Regions from separate parts of the Homo sapiens genome. Here region 1 is linked to region 2. Evidence: promoter capture Hi-C in 16 types of primary human blood cells and fetal thymus (Javierre and others, 2016). All regions are on one chromosome and are shown on one strand. The core of a region is centred on a gene start or on the middle of the fragment in contact, and the rest is flanking DNA. Distances in the headings are between cores, read along the strand shown.

Region 1 (2,857 bases), core at 1-2,500, 66 kb before region 2:
CCTTGCCTGTGGCTCTCCAAGCCTATGCATTATGTCCCATCTATACTGCAGGATGGGCTGCCTAACGCGGAACCGCCTACGGTTTCCTCTAGGCACACAGTATTCACTAACATTCAAAGGTAGGGCCAAGGGCTCCCCTTTATTAGCAACTTGCTCCTTTTCATCTTTTTCATCATTTTCCTGGTTGACATTTTCCACGATGAGATTGTTTAACGCTCGTTCCTCTTTGGACTCCATTACTCCTAGGAGACAGAGAGAAAATGGACTCAATTCTTGGTGAACTGATCAGCACCGAGGACAGAGGCCCGACTACCCACCTTTCAAAATTCAGAGCCCTGGATTTCAAAGGCCTTTTTTAAATTTCATTTTTTTTCCACCAGAGAGGCCCCATGTACCCTCGGGGGGGCGAGGGGAGCCAGTCTGTGCCCTTCTCTCCCGCAAAGCCCACCATCTTCTCTGCAGATCCATCTCCAGGCCTCTGCAGGCACCAAAATGGAGGACGAAGAAGGGGTGGGGGTGGGGGATTGCTAAGTGTGGGGGTGAAGGCACGGATTGGGGTCTCAGACTGGGCTTTCCTCATGTTCTGACCCCCTCCCCACCACCGTCCCTCGCACTGACCTGGGCCTATCCTTGCAGTCTCCTCCTCCCGATTCTCGACGTGAGGTGCGTCGCCGCAACACTTGGCCCCGCAAACCTGCAGACGGCCGGGGTGGGAAGAGTGGGGGCTGCTGCAGCGGAACGCTAGAGAGGACCCGCCGCCACCCGGCCCCTTCCCCACGCCGGGCCCGGGCCCTCCTAGCCGCTCTCGCCCCCCGCCTCAGCCGCCCAGCCCCCCAAGCTGACCACCATTTTCTGCATCAAGAAGGGCGGAGCAGGGGTGTTGGAAAAGCTTGCGCTGGTGACGGAGGCAGGTGCTTCCGAAAGGTCGTAGCCTCAGGATCGCCGGCTCCCGCGGGGCCGGGCACCCCTCCGCTCACACAAGGCTCGCGGTCCCGCGGCGGGGCCCCGGGGCTGCATCGTGGACCGGCTGCGTCTCCGCGCTGCTGCCCGGGGATGGGGCATCCGCAGGCCGGGGCTGCTCCCCCACACCAACCCCAGGGACCCCCTCCGGGTCCCTTACCTGCTCCCCCTCCGCTTCCTACTTTCGGGGCCGTACCTGGCCCGCACGTCCTCAGGGACACCGGGAACAGGTACCACTGCCGAGAAGGGAGCGAGCGACGGCGGTTCTGACGCCACAACGAGGTAAGACTCAGTGTTGGCCGATCACGTGTGGCTGTTGTCATCGCCAGAGGCTCCGCCCCCGTCCCACGCCCCCTCCTGCAGCCCGGAGTCAGGTGGTGCTTTCGGGCCCGCCCCCATCCTCACCGGGAGTCCCTTTTAACATCCCCAGCCTGGGCTCTGCCACTCTTCCTTCTCTGTATATTCTTGAGACTTCCCCTGCTTGCCCAGGAAGGACGGAAGGTATCTTCTCAGGGAGCTGTTGGCCATTCCCACTTCTCTGGGGACTTGCCTCTCTCTGCCCTTGGCTCCCAGGATTCACCTCCTTCTGCCTGTCTACCTCCTTCTGTCCTCCTACCAATATTCTCCGTTTTCTCTCCACTAAAATGAGTGGAAGAGGTGTATCAGGAAAGGAGCACAAGAGAGTAGGCTTTTCTCATTCTTAATACCTTTTCTGTATTATTTCTTTTGTAAAACACAAAAAATTAATATACTTCTTTAAAAAGGAAAAAAAGTTATTTTTACTTGAAAGACGGGATTAAAGTTGGGCAAAATGTCCCAACCACCTGTCCTGTTAAGTCATTATATAAATATAGACTCTACACGCAGCTGCTTTTTTAGAACTTGGAAAAGGACAGGGCAGCTGATGGCTCCCCTTTTGAGGGGCCCCTGGACACATGAGGCCCTTCTATGAAATGAGCTAGTGAGTTGTAGTGCTACAGAACCTTGTTGGGTTTTCATAACTAAAAGGAAAAAAAAGGCCTTTTTCACAAATTTCTGGTTCAAACGATAAGTATGTCTTTATTTAAAGATCAAGTAATCATGTATTTAGGAAATCCAGAGACATCTACGGTAAACCTACTATAGGAGTAAGAATTGATTTTAAGAAGGTTGCAGCTACAAGATAAATATTACAAACGTACTCATAAATTTATTTGAAAATGCAAAGGACCTAGAATAGACAAATAATTTTTTTAAAATATCCTACAAATCTTGAGAGTTACATTATATTATTTCAAGACTTAAGGTGTAATAATAAAGTTAGTGTAGTAGTAAACATAGACCTGTAGATCAATAGAACAGAATAGACTCCAGAAATAGACCCATACGTATGTTGTTAATTAGTTTTTGACAAAGATATCAAAGTAATTCTATATGGAAAGTATAGTCTTTTAAACTAATGGTGCTGAAATAACAGAATTCTTAAAGGAAAAAAAGGAGCCTTGCCTTTTATTTATACTATACACAAATTAATTCAAAATGGATCCTAGGCCTAAATGTAAAAGCTCAAATTAGAAAACTTCTAGAATAAAACATACAGAAAAACTTTACAATCTTTGAGAAAACAATTCCTTAGGACACAAAAAGAACAGATCACAAAAGAAAAAAATAAGAAATTGGATTTATCCAAATTAAAAACTTCTACCATTTAAAACACATGGTTAAGAAAATGAAGTGAGAAGCTGGGAGTAAATATTCACAGTATTTGTATCTGACAATGGTTTTGAATTCAGAGCATATATAAAGAACTTCGAAAACATAAAATAAGAAGGCAAATAATGCAGTAAAAATGATCAAAAGATCTGAATAAACATTTCACAAAACTACACACACAAATTACCAATGAGCTCATGAAAAG
Region 2 (2,994 bases), core at 220-2,719:
GCCACTGACTCCAGCCTGGGCGACAGAGCGAGACTCCGTCTCGGGGGAAAAAAAAAAAAGAAAAAGAAAGAGTCCCGCCTTTTTATATATTTTTTTCTTTTCTTTTTTTTTTTTTTGGAGACGGAGTCTCGCTCTGCCGCCTAGACTGAAGTGCAGTGGTGCGACGCGGCTCACTGCAACCTCTGCCTCCCGGGTTCAACGATTCTCCTGCCTCAGCCTCCCGAGTAGCTGGGACTACAGGCACGTGCCACCACGCCTGGCTAATTTTTTTGTATTTTTAGTAGAGACGGAGTTTCACCGTATTAGCCAGGATGGTCTCGATCTCCTGACCTCGTGATCCGCCCGCCTCGGCCTCCCAAAGTGCTGGGATTACAGGCGTGAGCCACCATGCCCGGCCAAAAATAAAATTTTAAACGAGCTAGTATGTATCAAAAGTAATGGCTTGATGTTGTGTGGAGCCCAGAAAAAATATTTTGTGTGGTACAGGTCAACATAAACAATGAGAGATTTCATTGTGCAGGATAAAGCATTTCCTTTTTTTTTTTTTTTTTTTTTTTTTTTTTTGACAGGGTCTTGCTCTGTCGCCCAGGCTGGAGTGCAGTGGTGCGATCCCGGCTCACTGCAACCTCCGCCTCCCAGGTTCAAGCGATTCTCCTGCCTCAGCCCCCCGAGTAGCTGGGATTACAGGCGCACGCCACCACGCCCAGCTAATTTTTGTATTTTTAGTAGAGATGGGGTCTCACCATGTTGGCCAGGCTGGTCTCACACTACTGGCCTCAAGTGATCCACCCGCCTCGGCCTCCCAAAGTGCTGGGATTACAGGTACGCCACCGCGCCCAACCAGCATTTCTTTCAAAATTAAAAACTTATAATTTATAATTTTCTGAAGCATGCAGATTTTTTAAGGAAATAAAAAGAAATATATACAGTCCACTCCACTTCCTTGCCCCGCTTTCTGACAAATGCCCTCCTGCCTCCCCACCTTAGCCCTCACTCTAAATTTTCTAGAAGGGTAGGAATTCAGGGGCTACGTGGGCATTGATGGCTGTGCACACGCAAGGGGTAGAAGTGGGAGTGCAGCGCAAAGCATGTTGCCAGGTAGAAAAGGAGAGAAAGCAGAAAAGGCCAAAGCCAAGGCCTGAAGTGAGAGGGGGCAGTGGTGGAGGATGATGCAGACCCTCCCTGGTAACCAGAGGAGGGCAAACTCCAACCGCAGAGCAGTGATGCCACTTGTGGGCCCTCAGATTGGAGAGGACCGAGAAGAGTGACAGGGCTGTGCGCTCTGGGGCACCTCATGCAGACGGGAGTAGGGAGGCTGTTTTTTGCGCGTGCATATGGCGGTGGCGGGTGGGGGGAAGGGGGAGATCCTGCTGCACTGGCCGCCCAAGTTGGGGGGCGAGCTCGGTGGTGACGCGCGGCCCTCACGTGACCCAGAGCTGCAGAGCGACGCAGCCTTCGGTGCAGTCGTCACTCGCGTCTGGCTACCAGCTCCCCGCTGCCCTGAGCTCGGCGGGCTGGCATTCGGCCCGGGGAAAAGCGGAGCAGGTAAGGGCTCCGGGGCCCGTGAGCCCCGGCCATGCCAGCAGCGGCTGACCGACCTCGGCGACAGGCGCAGAACAGCGCAGGGGGTCCCCGCCAGCTTTCTCCACACCCCAACATGCTTGGGAACACAGAGGCCCCCAGGGATGGGGAAGCAGGGGCGGCTGGGTTTCCAGGGGCGGCAGAGCCACCAAGAGCGATGGAAACCCACCCCCGAGTCCCTGCAGGAAAACAGCGAACACCGCGGGGGGCTGGGCGTTCGAGGGTGGGGTGGGGGTGGGGGGCGGGAGACGCGGGGCGCTGGCAGCGAGGGGAGCCCGGGCTCGGAGCACGGAAAGGGCCGGGCGGCGGCGGGTCTTCGCTAGCGTTCCGCTGCAGCAGCCCCCACCCCCCACAACCCCCACCCCGGCTCGACTGCAGGTCTGCGAGGCTAAGTGTCTCCGCGGCGCACCTCGCGGCGAGAATCCGGAGGAGAAGGAGACTGCAAGGATAGGCCCAGGTCGGTGCGAGGGACGGTGGTGGGGCGGGGGTCGGAACGTAAGGAAAGCCCAGTCTGAGACCCCAACCCCCTCCACCCCATCCCCCACTCCTATACCGGTCCTCCATTTTGGTGCCTGCAAAGCTCTGGGAAAGAATCCCGGGAAACGAAAAATGGTGGGTTTGGGGGAAGGGAGGTAAGGGGAGAAAGCTGGAGGGAGGGGCTTTAATTGGAGGCCCCGTAGAGGACGCGCGGAACTTCTAAGGTGGGAAAAAACGAAATTAAAAAATCCTTTGATATCAGGGCTCTGAATCCTGCTGGTCAGAGCACCAAGCATTCAGTCTCTCTCCTTGCCTTTGTCTTACTTGTGTTCAAAGAAAAACAACCAGAAAAAAAAAATCTCATCATGGCAAATATTCACCAGGAAAACGAAGAGATGGAGCAGCCTATGCAGAATGGAGAGGAAGACCGCCCTTTGGGAGGAGGTGAAGGCCACCAGCCTGCAGGAAATCGACGGGGACAGGCTCGCCGACTTGCCCCTAATTTTCGATGGGCCATACCCAATAGGCAGATCAATGATGGGATGGGTGGAGATGGAGATGATATGGAAATATTCATGGAGGAGATGAGAGAAATCAGAAGAAAACTTAGGGAGCTGCAGTTGAGGAATTGTCTGCGTATCCTTATGGGGGAGCTCTCTAATCACCATGACCATCATGATGAATTTTGCCTTATGCCTTGACTCCTGCCATTTATCATGAGATTAATACTGTGATTCCCGCTGTTTTCTTTTTCCTTGCATTTTCCTAATATGCCTTTACTGATCCGTTTGCTGTGAACCCTATGTTATTTCCATGTGTCAAGTGGGTCTTGTGTTGCCAGCTTCTATTTGAAGATTGCCTTTGCACTCAGTGTAAGTTTCTGTCAGCAGTAGTTTCACCCATTTGCATGGAAAAATTTAAAGCTAATAAAGCAAT

Evidence for each region. Contacts are between HindIII fragments. The CHiCAGO score rates a contact against its expected background, and 5 or more counts as called.
Region 1: a contact is called between the fragment with the promoter of BEX2 here and the fragment with the promoter of BEX3 in region 2, in 1 of 17 cell types (fetal thymus). The highest score is 6.9, in fetal thymus.

The regions. Positions count from the first base shown.
Region 1 is chrX:103,309,740-103,312,596 of GRCh38, forward strand. BEX2 (brain expressed X-linked 2) reads right to left here and starts at 1,251. Exons shown (of 3, transcript NM_032621.4): 1 at 1,121-1,251; 2 at 619-694; 3 at 1-242. The coding sequence starts at 237. RefSeq lists a silencer at 987-1,076. The HindIII fragment of the contact is 10,238 bases long and covers 888-2,857 here.
Region 2 is chrX:103,375,069-103,378,062 of GRCh38, forward strand. It overlaps BEX3 (brain expressed X-linked 3), which reads left to right and starts at 1,470. Exons shown (of 3, transcript NM_206917.3): 1 at 1,470-1,545; 2 at 1,960-2,038; 3 at 2,442-2,994. The coding sequence starts at 2,454. The coding sequence ends at 2,759. The HindIII fragment of the contact is 24,241 bases long and covers 1-2,994 here.